Linked DNA regions of Homo sapiens: all the other regions are linked to region 2. The links are contacts of gene promoters, found by promoter capture Hi-C in blood cells and fetal thymus (Javierre and others, 2016). All regions are on one chromosome and are shown on one strand. The core of a region is centred on a gene start or on the middle of the fragment in contact, and the rest is flanking DNA. Distances in the headings are between cores, read along the strand shown. Region 1 holds the start of DIPK2A (divergent protein kinase domain 2A). Region 2 holds the start of PLS1 (plastin 1). Region 3 overlaps SLC9A9 (solute carrier family 9 member A9).

Evidence for each region. The method cuts DNA at HindIII sites, captures the fragments that hold promoters and counts their contacts. A CHiCAGO score of 5 or more calls a contact.
Region 1: the fragment with the promoter of DIPK2A here is called in contact with the fragment with the promoter of PLS1 in region 2 in 2 of 17 cell types (fetal thymus and non-activated CD4 T cells); the score reaches 8.0 in fetal thymus.
Region 3: a contact is called between a fragment that was not itself captured here and the fragment with the promoter of PLS1 in region 2, in 1 of 17 cell types (naive CD8 T cells). The highest score is 5.6, in naive CD8 T cells.

Annotation. Positions count from the first base shown.
Region 1 is chr3:143,970,051-143,974,765 of GRCh38, forward strand. DIPK2A (divergent protein kinase domain 2A) reads left to right here and starts at 1,773. Exons shown (of 3, transcript NM_173552.5): 1 at 1,773-2,939. The coding sequence starts at 2,283. RefSeq lists enhancers at 1,079-1,659, 1,139-1,248, 1,519-1,608, 1,660-2,240, 3,249-3,508 and silencers at 1,339-1,388, 1,719-2,368, 2,859-3,098. The HindIII fragment of the contact is 6,379 bases long and covers 387-4,715 here.
Region 2 is chr3:142,594,965-142,599,227 of GRCh38, forward strand. It overlaps PLS1 (plastin 1), which reads left to right and starts at 1,429. Exons shown (of 16, transcript NM_001145319.2): 1 at 1,429-1,545. PLS1-AS1 (PLS1 antisense RNA 1) reads right to left here. Exons shown (of 4, transcript XR_001740938.2): 4 at 945-2,333. RefSeq lists an enhancer at 1,485-1,724. The HindIII fragment of the contact is 10,696 bases long and covers 1-2,918 here.
Region 3 is chr3:143,671,904-143,676,577 of GRCh38, forward strand. The region is part of intron 5 of SLC9A9 (solute carrier family 9 member A9); the gene reads right to left. Among named protein-coding and RNA genes, the nearest start is that of SLC9A9, 170 kb to the right of the region's middle. The HindIII fragment of the contact is 1,912 bases long and covers 773-2,684 here.

The DNA.
Region 1 (4,715 bases), core at 523-3,022, 1.4 Mb after region 2:
TCTCTCAGCTTAATCAGTTTAATGGCAACTTATGTAGTACTTTTATTGTTTTAAACCAATTCTAAATAGATTGTCTACTATTAATCGAACAAATTTATGAGGCATATAGAAAAGATGTCAGAAAGAAGAAATTTGTAGTTAAGTAATAACTTGCTTTGTTTACAATTCAGCAGCAGCAGCAGCCTCACAGCTGAACTACAGCACAGGTCTCCAGAACCATCACACCAAACTCCTTTTCCTAAGAAAATCTCACTTGAGCTTTTAACTCTATATTATATGGAGTTTGGGGATATTTGAAAGCAAGTTAAATAAAATTCCCACCAAAGGCGGCATAAGGCACTAGGCAGAAGTAGCCAAACTTAAGTACAGTAAGTCAATTTCTAGAAAGCTTTGAATATTATTTCAATTTGTCTGTCCGTATTCAATGCAAATCGTTACAAAATCACGTCTATTTTGAATTTATTAAATTTCTCAAAGTTTTTTTTTCAAAATCTGAGTTCTTATAAGAATTTGTAACAAATACCTGTTACAATTAAACAATACTGAAAGTATTGTTACTTTTGATAACCTGGTATAGATGTTTCTTATTAACCCGCTGTAGAGTTGATCTACACATGCCAGTTACCATGGTCTTCTAAAAGCACTGTTCAAGCCCTAAAATTAACTCAGTTAAGACTCAGTTGTTTAATAACGTATCAGGAACCACCTGTCCCTCAGACTAAAAATCACTTCTCATTTTAACTACTCTAGCACTAAAAGTGAATAGCATAATAATGTATCTACTAGCGCTACTGCTAAACAGTCCGGGTCCCCTGAAACTTATCCCTAAACACAGTGCTTTCGTGCGGCATCTGCGCCTTACTTTTGCAGTCTGGGGTGACTGAGTCAACGTGACCGTGCGGAGCACCAAGCAGCCCCGGGTCCCCATGGCTACCGCCAGGGCAACGCTTCGCGGCCCGCTCCTCAGGGACCCTCAGGGGCGGCACCGGGAAATCAGCTTTGCGGAGAGGAACCGCAGGGCTCCGGGGACGGGCTAGGGCAGCCGGCGGGCAGCAGAGGCAAGCCTGGCAAACTCTTCCCGGCTTCTTCGCGGCGCTTGGGGCAGACGTCCTGGCGACACCAGGCCGCGTCGGTTCCCCTTCATCCTATTTTCCCTTTAACACGGTGGCTTGAGAACTTTATTTTGTGCTCACTCAAGAAAATTTTAAATGATTTTACAGATACAACCCCAAAGATGAAGCTCCAACAAACCCGCCACTACTCGAGCCTTTCTCACCGTCTTCCTCACAGGCCCCACCCCCTACCGCGAGGAGCACGAGCTGAGGGGAACACAAGCCCCCGTCGGGCACTCCCCGGCCTCGCCCCACCCCCCAGGCGCGCACCCAACCCATATAAGGCGAGGGGAGGCAATCGCGCCAGCTCTGCCTCCGCCTCGCGCGCCGTCCAGAGGGAAGGATTTGCAATAGACTTCCTCAGTTCATTTCTTCTTATTCCCTCCTCCCTTAAAGGGCCGTTTCCACAATAGTGAAAGGAACGCACCAGTAAACCACAATAATCATAAAAGATGACTGTAATTAAGACTCTTTCTGAAACCAGAAACCGCGAGTTCATGCCCCCACCTCAAGAGCCCGAGCTTCCCCCTCTCTGAACCGCCCCCACACCCGCTCCCGCGAGCTCCCGCTTACGCTTTCCGGGCGGCGCGCGACGCGCTCGCTCCGCCCCTCTGGCCCCGCCCCCGGCTCCCCTTCTTGGTCTCAGGAGAGCCAGCGCGCACAAGCAAGGGTGTGCGGCTCTGAGACGTGCGTTGCTGCTTGTGGGTGTGAGACATCCTAGCTCCTCTTCCCCTTCCGTGAGTCCCTCCTTTCCTCGCAGACCCCACTTGTCGTGGCTGGCTGCCGCCGCAGCTCTTGTGCGAAGCCAGCAGTGCGCGTGCGCGCGGGCACGGGCGCGCGACCGTCGGGTCCCCGCGCTCCCTCCCCCTCCCGCTCCTCTATAACTTGGCTGGCGTGGAGGAGGCGCCGCCGGAGTCGGAGGGCGGGGAGCTAGGAGGAGGGAGCTCGAGAGTTGTGGAGACTAGTGACTGGGAGAAGTCGCAGCCCGCTCAGGCCCGCGCCTTCCCGCTCCCCGTCTTCCTCTCTCACACACCTACTCCGCCCTCCGCCCCAGCCCGCGCGCTAGCTCCTTCTCTCGCCCGGGGTTCCTGCCGGTAGCTCTCCGGGTCTTGGCGCGGCGGGGGCGCCCCGGGGGTGCCCTCGCCCTCCCGTTGCGGGCGGGCGGGCGGTATGTGGCGCCTGGTGCCCCCGAAGCTGGGCCGCCTGTCCCGCTCGCTGAAGCTGGCGGCGCTGGGCAGCCTGTTGGTGCTGATGGTGCTGCACTCGCCGTCGCTGCTCGCCTCTTGGCAGCGCAACGAACTGACCGACCGGCGCTTCCTGCAGCTCAATAAGTGCCCGGCGTGCTTCGGCACGAGCTGGTGCCGCCGCTTCCTCAACGGGCAGGTGGTATTCGAGGCGTGGGGCCGCTTGCGCCTGCTGGACTTCCTCAACGTGAAGAACGTGTACTTCGCGCAGTACGGCGAGCCCCGCGAGGGCGGCCGCCGCCGAGTGGTGCTCAAGCGCCTCGGCTCGCAGCGCGAGCTGGCGCAGCTCGACCAGAGCATCTGCAAGCGGGCCACCGGCCGGCCCCGCTGCGACCTGCTGCAGGCCATGCCCCGGACCGAGTTCGCGCGCCTCAACGGCGACGTGCGTCTGCTCACGCCCGAGGCGGTGGAGGGCTGGTCGGACCTGGTGCACTGCCCCTCGCAGCGCCTTCTCGACCGCCTGGTGCGCCGCTACGCGGAGACCAAGGACTCGGGCAGCTTCCTGCTTCGCAACCTCAAGGACTCGGAGCGCATGCAGCTGCTGCTGACCCTGGCCTTCAACCCCGAGCCGCTGGTGCTACAGGTAGGCGCGGAGCCAGGGCAGGGGGCGTCCTGGGAGGGGCCGCGCGTGGGAATCAGAGTCGGGAGAAGTGGCTCAGCCAGCGCTTGCCGCCAGTTCGGACTCGGCCGGGCTGGGCCAGGCTGCAGGCGTGGGAAGGGGCGTCTCCGGGGGAGCCCCGGGGCTGTGCAGGGAGGCCGAGGGCGACCCCGCTGATGGAGAGTCTGCTCTTGTTACCTAGATTCGGGCGCATTTCGGATTTGACTGTGGATCTTTCAACGCCAGAGGGAGTGCGTCTCTTAACACTCCCCAAAATGTCTCTACTGCGAGTTTCCTTCCGCTCTCTACCCTGCCTTTCTGCTTTTATCTGCCGGGGCTTGCAGGTCCGCGGCGCAGACTGTTCACGAGCCCTTGGACCTTTCCTAGTTCTTCTGAAGTGTTCTACACCGCGTTCGCTCTTCCTTTTCTGGCGCTGGTGGCTGGCCTAACTTCGGTCTCAGAGTCTTTGTTTTCGCTCATTTACCTGGCAGTCATTTGGACACCTAATTCGAGGACAAGTTGGGGAGGATGAAGTCGGAGAACGGGACAGTGGTCGGGGTGGGTTTAATCTGTGAGCCGAGCTTTGGGTGGGATTAGAATCAGAAACAGGAAAAGTAAGGCAGCGTTGGACTTGGGGCTGGGAGGGCTTAAGGCCAGACAGACGTTTTCATCCTGATCCTGTGACCTGCCCTATTCATCTGGTAATCTAGTTGAAGGGAGATGAAATATTAGGCCAGGGCGAGTATCAGGGAAGGAGATTCTTGCCTTTCGCCAGTTGCGTTGTTTGCTCTCGTCTGACTGTTTTGAAAAGTAATGTGCCTTTTAGGGGAATAGGATGGAATCTTTACTGGTGACATCAAAAAGAGAACAAAAAACAAAAACACTGTTTACTTTCGGAGTATTTGCTTGTTTCTGCACATTCCCACCCAGCTTCAGTGCGGTGTCCTTGAACAGTGATTACAACTGTGGGGTTGTGGTTTCTCCTTCTGTCTGCAGGAAAAGTTACCGTGCTCCTTTCCATGACAAGAGAAAAAAATGACTTAAAAGTTCACAAGTAATTTTGGTATACTTCACATTCTTTCTGGGTTGCTGTCACTGAGGGCTGGAGGTACAGGGTTTTTTTTTTTTTTATTTTTCTAAAATGCATGAATAGGAAAGTGCAGATTTCTTTATATTATTTTCTTTTCTCAAGCTCTACACTGCCCATTTTAGCTTTAAAAGAAACCAGCTTCGTTTGATTAGTTCAGCCAAATAATGTAACACAAATATTTGGCTTCAGATGAAACTTTAGTGTGGGTCTTAGTAAATTTTAGGACATCAGAGGCTATGTGTATTGGGTTAATTTTAAAGTCAGAGTGTGTTTTAAATACTGCTGTATCACCTAACTGAATGGATGCATAAAACTGGTTAAACTTTCCTTGAAGAAATTTTCTTTATTCAGTAGTTCCCAAACTAGTCAGTCTCTAAAGGTTTAGCCTGTATTTATGATGTACATACACTTGAACTGAAGTTTCTCATTAAGCTATCTTTAAAAGAGAACCTTGTTTGTATTAGCAAGGTTGGTTCTTGGAGATCGTGTTAGCATTTTGCTGAAGTAGATACCCGGACAAATTCTCTGAGACCCAGAAATTTAGCAAGGAGCTGTCTTAGTAATATACATTTACTGTACTTAAAATGCTGGCGTCCCTACCGAAAGATTTTTTTTTTTTAGGTAATTTTGAATAGTGATGTATTAGTAACAACTAACAGTAGAATTGATAT
Region 2 (4,263 bases), core at 179-2,678:
TTTGTACTTCATATAAGTGGGATTATACAATATGTTTTGTCTCTAGCTTCTTCAACTCAGCATACCGATTTTGAGAGTTATCCATATTGAGTCCTGTGTGAGAGTATTTCTTCTTTTTTATTGTTGAGTAGTATTGCATTGTATAAATATACCACAATTTGTTTTTTCATTTACATGTTGTTGGACAGTTGGGTTCCTTCTGGTTTGGGGCTTTTGTGAAAAACAGCTGCTATGAGCATTCCTGTTCAAGTTTTTGTGTAAGCATATGTTTTAATTTCTCTTGGATAACATCTAGGAATGAAATGGCTGGGTCATATGTTAGATGTATGTTTACCTTTTAAGGAAATATTTTGCTTTATTTTGTGAGAACTTACTTAACTCCCCTTGCATATCTAGATAAATAAGTATCAGATAAGGATACTAAATTTACCAGATTCTCTAGGTGGCAGGTGGGAAAAATCAGATAAGAATACTAAATTCACCTGATTCTCTAGGTGGCAGGTGGGAAAAATTCCTTATCTTCCCTCTCCATGGCCCACCTACTTTCATAGTTCATTGCTCGTCCAATTTGTTTGAGTTCTTAAAATAATTTCAACTTCCCCCCTTTATTTTTTCTATTGTTACCATCTCAGGGTTGGTTGGGTGCCTATTCTGTATTGGATATTGTGTTAGGCGCAGAAGGGGCACGTGGGACTTTGAGTTAAAGGGGCAGCAAAACCTTGTTCTGTTCTCTGGACTGAGTTGGACAGACCACAACTACGGATTATGCTTCAGGCAAAGTATGTGAGAACTCTTGAGGCAGCATTCCATTTACCTGACTCACATGCGAGAGAAAATATCCCACTTTTGTTTGAGTGTGGGCTTTAGTTATATATTTATTTTAATCAGGTGTGGCTGTTAAAGGAAAAGGAAGCAATCCGTGAAACAAACGGAAAAAAAAAGAGTAGGGGAGAGAAACAAGTCTTCCTTTAATAACGTATACCTTTCCTTTTGACCAGCAGGTCCCAAAGTGTGGTACCCAGACTAGTAGCACCAGTTTTCGCTGAGAACATGTTAGAAATGGGAACTGTCGCGCTACGCTCCAGACCTAACTGAATCGGAAACTCAGTTTCCGGGTTTGGGATCTGTGATTTAAAAAGCTCTCCAGGTGATTCTGATCCACGCTCAAGTTTGAGAACTGCTGTGCTAAACTCATTCCCAGGGTGTAGGTGGTCATCTTTAGACTTGGGTAACTGTGGGCGGTAGAGATAACGTTGCCGCAGCGCCCGTCCACCTCTCCCCATCCACGCTCCCAGCGCCTGCAACTCCTCTTTCACCCTTAGCCTAAACCCAGGTTCTGGGCTTCCCTTTCCCTCCCCTGGGAGCCGCAGGCAAAACGCGGCAAGTGGATTCAGAGTTTGCGGGCCCGGGTGCCGGCCGAGCATGCGCAGTGGCGCGAGCGCAGCGGCTACGCGGGCGCGGAGAGGTAGCCGCAGAGTGGACCTGCAGGTACTTGGATCTCCAGTGGGAGCTGCCCTCTCGAAGGCAGGACAGCGGTGGCGGCAGGTACGCGGGGGTGGGGATAGGGCCCAAAAGGAAGGCTGGACAGACAGATGGAAAGCGAAGCGTTACTCCTTTGGGGGCGCGCGGCGGCTCGGGGGCAGTATCTCCGGGTCCCCTCGCTCGCGTCTCGTCTCCTGGCTGTGCAGTGTGGCGCCCGCCGTCCTCTGGGCACGCTTCTGCCCAGTCCCGGCAGGCAGTGCCCGCAGGTGTTAAATCGCGTATTTACACTGCTTAAACAATAAGCCTGTTAACTGAATTGTGATTCTATGCAATGAAATAAGGTATTTCATTAAGTTTTCTTCTTTCAACTTTGGGTGGCTGCCGGTGAGGCTTTCTGAACCAGCCTGTTTTGTTTTAATTCTGGGACTGGTTTATTTGCCTTTGGCCTTTTGGTGCATAGGATCAATAGGGCTGTAGTGAAATCCCATCCGTGCTGTTTTTGGTACCTTTCCTGGAGCATAGGGACCTCTGGATGCGGCATAAAAATGTCAGTTTTCAGCGAATTTCACTGCCAAAAAACTTTCCGTGTTTCAGCTGCATTTTCAAGTGGAGACTTAAAAAAATTTAAGATTTCTCCCTAACTTTTCAATTATTACTGTATTTCGGTCTTCATTTGGTACTATTAAAAGGAAGCGGTCGTTTAGATGAGTAACAGAATTCTCACTTTTCCTCCTTTACTTACTTACTATGTCACATTTTATGGCTTATACCGTGATATCTTTCCCTCCAGCCACGGTGTTGGATACACTTGTATGAGGCTTCAGCTGTGCTGCATAAATTTCTTGAAGAACCTGTGAGCCAGAAGCAAAATTTCAGGACAGGGGGCACACACTGAACTTGAAGCAAGTACTTTTACACCCCCCACCACCTTTGTAATCAGCTTTCCTTTAAGTTGAATTATGTAATGAAATTCTATAGTAAAGTGTTAATGTGTAATGTGGAGGCATATATATATATAGAGAGAGAGGTAGTAAGTTTAGGAAGAGGAAATTTTAAGTTCAGGAAGAGAAACCTATATGGAAAGGGAATACAGGTATCCTGCCCCCCTTCATTCCTCCCATGATAAATGTTTTAATGGCAGAAATAATATACAGCTGGTCTAGTTTTGGCTGTAGAGACCTTTGAGGTCAGCCAGTTCAGCTGCTTCAGTTTACAAATGAGAAAACTGAGACCAGCGAGGTTAGATGACTTGCTGTGGCCACCCAAGCCCCTCATTGGCAAAGCTAGGCCTGGGATCCAGGTTTTCTCATTTTCTGGGGTCTTTTTACCACTCCCTGCAGATACTCTTCTTTACCTCCATTATTAAACTTCCTTTTTCTCTTCTACTTATACCATGAAGTCTGGCTTAAGCAGAAAATTAGTTGTTTCTCTTACTAAGCTTCCTAGTACCTCATAAATTCCTTTCAAAAAGTGCCCTTTCACTGAAGCCCCACCTAACAATTTGCTGGTCCTGAAAACGCCCTCCTTCCTTCCCTCAGTCACCTGGGCCCTTTGCCCAAAATGCCTGTTTGCCTCCCTCTTTCCGTATTGAAGTCCTGCTCATGCTGCAAGGTGTAGCTCAGGTGTGACCTCTTTTTGGAAGCCTTCCTTGATTGCCTTAGCATGAAGTAGCTCTCCCTCTTCTGAACCCTATAGCACTTACTACTGTTGTTTGTGCTGTTAGTATCCCCATTGTATATAGTATCCTGAGTATTTTAGCACCTCCCAACTTCCCGACCAGGAAGTTGGCAGGTTGTGTAAGCTCTTGGAGGTTAAAGCCTATGACTTAAACATCCCACCCAGCACTAAGCACAAAGTATATTCTTAGCCCCTGTTTGTGGGAGGGAGTGGGGGAAGGAAGTGCAGTATGTATAGTTTTGTAAAGAGATTTCATGTGTGTTCTATAATATGGGGAAGGCCATGTTAGAGCTGTATCAAGACAGCAGCCAAGTCCATTTCTGATTCCTCATATTTTGATAACAGATCACAGATTAGTTAGGGGGATTACAGGAGACAGGCGTAAAAACACGGGTCAGTTGGTCCAGGCCCTGGATTAAGCCTGTGACTCAAAGTGGAGAAAAGAGGGCACAGAATTAAGAAATGTAAAGGAAGAAGCATGTGGTGAAAGACTAAATGCAGAGAAGGAAAGACATGTTGAAAATGAATTTCAGGGTTGGGGTGTTAGTAATGGGTTTATAATGTTCTTTTTATCTTAAAAGTACCTCCAATTGGCTGGGTGTGGTGGCTCACGCCTGTAATCCCAGCACTTTGGGAGGCCGAGGTGGGTGGATCACAAGGTCAGGAGATTGAGACCATCCTGGCTAACACGGTGAAACCCCATCTCTACTAAAAATACAAAAAATTAGCTGGGGGGGCATGGTGGTGGGCGCCTGTAGTCCCAGCTACTTGGGAGGCTGAGGCAGGAGAATCGCATGAACCCGGGAGGCGGAGCTTGCAGTGAGCCAAGATTGTGCCACTGCACTCCAGCATGGGCGACAGTGCAAGACTGCATCTGAAAAAAAAAAAAAGTACCTCGAATTGTGACATTGTCTCTGTTTCTTAGTTAGTGATGTAATTGTCTTATTTCCCGTTCTAGATGATAAGCTCTCTGAAGGATGACCTTTAACCCTTCACAATACCTGGCACATTGCTTTGCAGTATCAGACACTCAATAGTTATTACATGAATGAATGAATAAATAAATAAATAAATAAATAAATAAATAAATAAAAAGTGCATTTT
Region 3 (4,674 bases), core at 479-2,978, 1.1 Mb after region 2:
AATATCTCTTACTGCTTCTGTTCTCTCACAGCAATACCAATGCAATCTTTCTCTACCAAATATTAGATGCTAAAAGTAGAGTCATCCAACTTTCTTTATAGATGACAGAGCAAATAATTCAGGAACACAAACTTTATACTATATGAGAGCATTTTTTGCTGTTTATAATATGGCATAAAACCATCTTGATCTCTTCCTGCTTAGCCGATATTAAATGAATGTTGTCTTTGTTCTCTAAGCCAGCCCTGGTACTGAAGGAACTACTTTGTCAATTACATCTTAAATTTTTTTTTTGTCTGTGAATAGAAAATTATTCCGTTTTCTCTTGAATTCTTGTGTAGAATATTGATAACACCAGTGATGAGAAACCACAAGTGTAATATAGGCTAAAACTAAATGCAGAGGCAGAGAGGGCCAGAAGGTGAAAAAGAACAATATCCATGATTTTAAAAAGATGTGATCCAAACAAAAGAAATCAATGAAGAACACAATTAAATATTGAAACACAACAGTGATTAGAGAGCATGATCAGAGAAACTGAAGGAAAACAAAACTGAAAAATAAAAACTTTTCTGATTATGCCAATGTGAGTAATCTTTCTCCGGTGTTAGAAAAATTAAATATTTAAACCTGGAGTTCCACGATGAATGAAAAATATGAGAGACAGCCCAATTAAGTCATCCTTACTGAAGAGGCTTTTCTCCAAAAATAACAGTCCTGCTTTTAATTATAGGTTCTTGGGTCTGTTAATCAGCCATCTTCCTCAAGGCTAAGCTTGGTGCAAATAACAGAGAAGGATTCAGCAAAATGCCCTGTTTAATTAAAATGAATTTAATTAAAAATATTTTTATACACATGACCAATCACCATTATTTATGCAGATGTTCCCACATAAGTCTTTGAAAAGGCATTTCTCCCCCCAACCTTTAAAAAATATGCTGTGCTTCTACAAGAACTGCTATGAAATGAAAAGCACTATGACTGGTAGTTAATACCTATTTTTATCAAAACAGCAGTGCAGCTCACACATCACCTGAGCAGCCGTAACCATAGTAACCCCAAATAGAAAGGGGCTTCAGATTATCAACACCATCAAAGGTAAGATAGTTCATGTGCCTCTGCAATAGTTACACTACAGCAAACTTTAAAGGATAAAGGTGGCTTTTATTCCTACTACTTAAATGTTAAATGAAAATAATGACTTGCAAGTACAGTGTATAGAAATGCCTTTCATTTTGGAAGACTCTTATTTCCTCAAAGTGTTAATAATAGAAAAGATGAAAACTCAATGCTATACATTTCTCCAGTGCTTCTATCTGATTATGGCGAGGGGACAGTAATCATCATTTTGCCAAGTTGGAGAATTCATACAGGGAAAACCCCACCCATAGGAGCCCTGCAGGATGAGAAGCTGGACGAGAAGGCATATTCTGTGTCCATGCACTCAGTGAGAGGATGGCTATGGTTAGTGATGATTGTCGACACGAATTACCTGCAATAAGGTATAGATGGTGACTTAGGGTGTAGACTGGCAGTCAAATCACAAAGAAAATGCACATTTAATTAGAGAAGGAGTGGAACTGGTTTGAAATATCAGTGAAATACCAATCCAAATACAAATCTGTATTTGGCTTTATAATTTATGGTTGGGGTAGGATGGAGTAGGGAAGGGTGGGAGGGCAGGGCATAAAAGGCCAGCAAGACCATACTTATTAATTATATTGTTAATTAATAATATTAATAATATTGATTATTCTATCAGAGGAACTATGATCTAGATAATCCAAAACAGAGACTAGTAGAAAAGACTTTCTGACAACATTTCCTAATGTTCAATATGTCTAGGGGGGCAGCATCTGGAAACATGGAGAAAATATTCTAAATTTTAAATATTTAAGTGTATAGTAGCTATTACAAAAAGCAGAAATTCCACATGAGGATAAATATAATTTTATTAATTTTTTCTTTTTAGTCTCTTTACATTTGAGATTTACCGTGGAAGTGGATGGACAAGTAATGAAAACATAAGAAAACAAATTCTTTAATTATGGTCATGTAGGAAGAAAATGGTATCTGGAAATTTTATGTTCAGGAATAAATAGGAATATCATGATAGTGTTATCTAAAAATCCAATAAAGTGCCTGAGAAGAATTCACTGCTAATAAAAATGTGTTTTAAAACACTTAGCAATTTACACATAATTTTCCATACAGCTCTTCATTTGATCTGACAAAAATTCTTTGAAGAAATGGAAGGTACTTTCTGTTTTGTTTTGTTTTGATAGTCTCTATTTTAAGGAAGTGGAAAGTGAGGTTCCAATAAGTTAAAGCATTAAACTGTGATGCTCCATTCACCCATGACACTAATCTTGCCTTAATGAACTGACACTTTTGATATCCAGGACGCTCTGACCACCAATCCCAACCTCATTTTTAGGAAATTTTTCTACCCTTATTACGTGCTTATTTTATTTTTAGTGGAAGGCTCCTCTTGGGATTAGTTTATGAGACATCCCTAACTGTGATCCTTTTATGCAGGCAATTTCACAGGGCCTCTCTTAGATGCTTTCACCCATAAACACACGAGCAGTGCCAGCGCCCTGGTTCACACTTCCCCTTGAAACCGGTGCGCCCCAGAATTAGAGCGACACCTAGCCGTGATTTTAGGTAGTACATGCTAGGAAAGCTTATTTGGGCAAGGGAGACAAACAAGAGACATCAGAGCTGGTGGCATCTCAAGAGGATACTACTCCCAGAGGTAGAAATCTCAGAGGTTTTCTAACAGCACTTTCTACTGGGAACTAGGACTCCTGCAGTTCACATTCTCTGAGGAGGAACTATATGATAAGGGAAGTTTATTATAATTATAATAAAAGGTAAGATGTGCACCCTTGAAATTACATACAGGTTCTACCAGTGCAATAAATGATATCTATTTCAGATTAAAAATATCAGTTCCAAGCCTCCTTCATCTCAATAATTCTTGACATTTACTCAGAAAAGCAAATATTTCATTCAGTTTTTATATTCATCGGGGCTGTGGACTAGTGCTACTAGCATCAACGAGACACTTGTTAGAAATGGGGTGTTGGACTTGACCCTGGACCTACGGAATCAGAATTTCAGGAGGCAGAACCCCCTAATTAGTACTTTCAGACTCTCCAAGTGAGTTTTACGTTCACTCACATTGGAGAACCTACTAATATAGAGCAAGAAGTAATCTTAAAAATCATCTAATTCCTCTAGGAATATATTAGGCAAATAAGGCCTAGAAAGCTTAAGTGGCCACCTTGAATTTTCCCTGCACATCAGAAATATGCCTTGTGCATAGTAACAGGGATTGAACTAGACCTGAGGTCTCCTAACTCCCAATAATAAAAATAGCATAGTGCTATGACACTTGTCAAGTGCAGGCTGGTTGGGCAAAACATTAGCTAAACAGAGACTTTGACTTTGTATCTATATTCCTCCTGGCTTCTAATTTCAGTAAATGAATTATCATCCATGCATTTAATTTAGGCACCAGACAGGATAATCCACAGTAAATTTTCTAAATTCAATTAACATGAGCCAGTAGTAGTCTCCTTATGAAAGCCAACAACGAGGGCTCAGGGCTTCATCAAGCACTTGGGATTCTTAGCACACTTTAGCTACTGGAGCAAGCAGAGATGTGTGACTTACATGTAATATGAGAAGTCATTGATTTTCATTTCTTTTTTCACTTCACGGCAGACACAATATCATACTGAGTTTGAAGATTTTCCTTTAAGATTTTCTCATTATACTTCAGAGTGATTTACTAATATCATATAAAAATGATTGGTTATTTTCTCATTTTTATGAAATTTTGAAGTTTTCAAGTGTACAGATGTGTTTCCACATAAATCCATAAATATGATCATAATATGCATACTCTTTGTTTAGTCGTTTGCTTTAATAGTCTTTTTTCTTTTCCTTTTTGGTATGTCTCTCTTTTTTCCACCTCTTCCTCTCTTAAACTCATATCTCCTCTCTCCCCAAGTAACCCAATTTTACAACGCAGTACAGAGGTCCTCAATGTTTTTGGCACCAGGGACAGGTTTCTCGTGGGGGATGGGGAGGAGGGCGAGGTGGGGATGGTTTCGGAATGAAACTTCCACCTCAGCTCATCAGGCATTAGATTCTCATGAGGAGCACACAACCTAGATCCCTCGCATGCGCAGTTCACAATAGGGTTCACACTTCTATGACAATCTAATGCTGCCGCTGATCTGACAGGAGGTAAAGCCCAGGTGGTTATGCTGGCTGGCCTGCCACTCACCTCCTGCTGTGCAGCTTGGTTCCTAACAAGCCACAGACCTGTACCCGTCTGTGGCCCGGGAGGCTGGGGACACCTGACCTAGTATATGTCCTACCAATTTCTCTTTATACTAAAATTCTCATTATAACAATTACACACACACTTGTAACAATGTTAAATTAGATGTTTAAAATGAGAAACAAAGCAAAAACAAACAAACAAACAAAACAAACAAAAACACATGTTATGTAGTGAGATGTACAATCTTAAAAGCAGCTGGGTGTGGTGGCTCATGCCTGTAATCCCAGTAATTTGGGAGGCTGAGGAGGGCGGATCATGAGGTCAGGAGAGCGACACCATCCTGCTCAACATGGTGAAACCCTGTCCCTACCAAA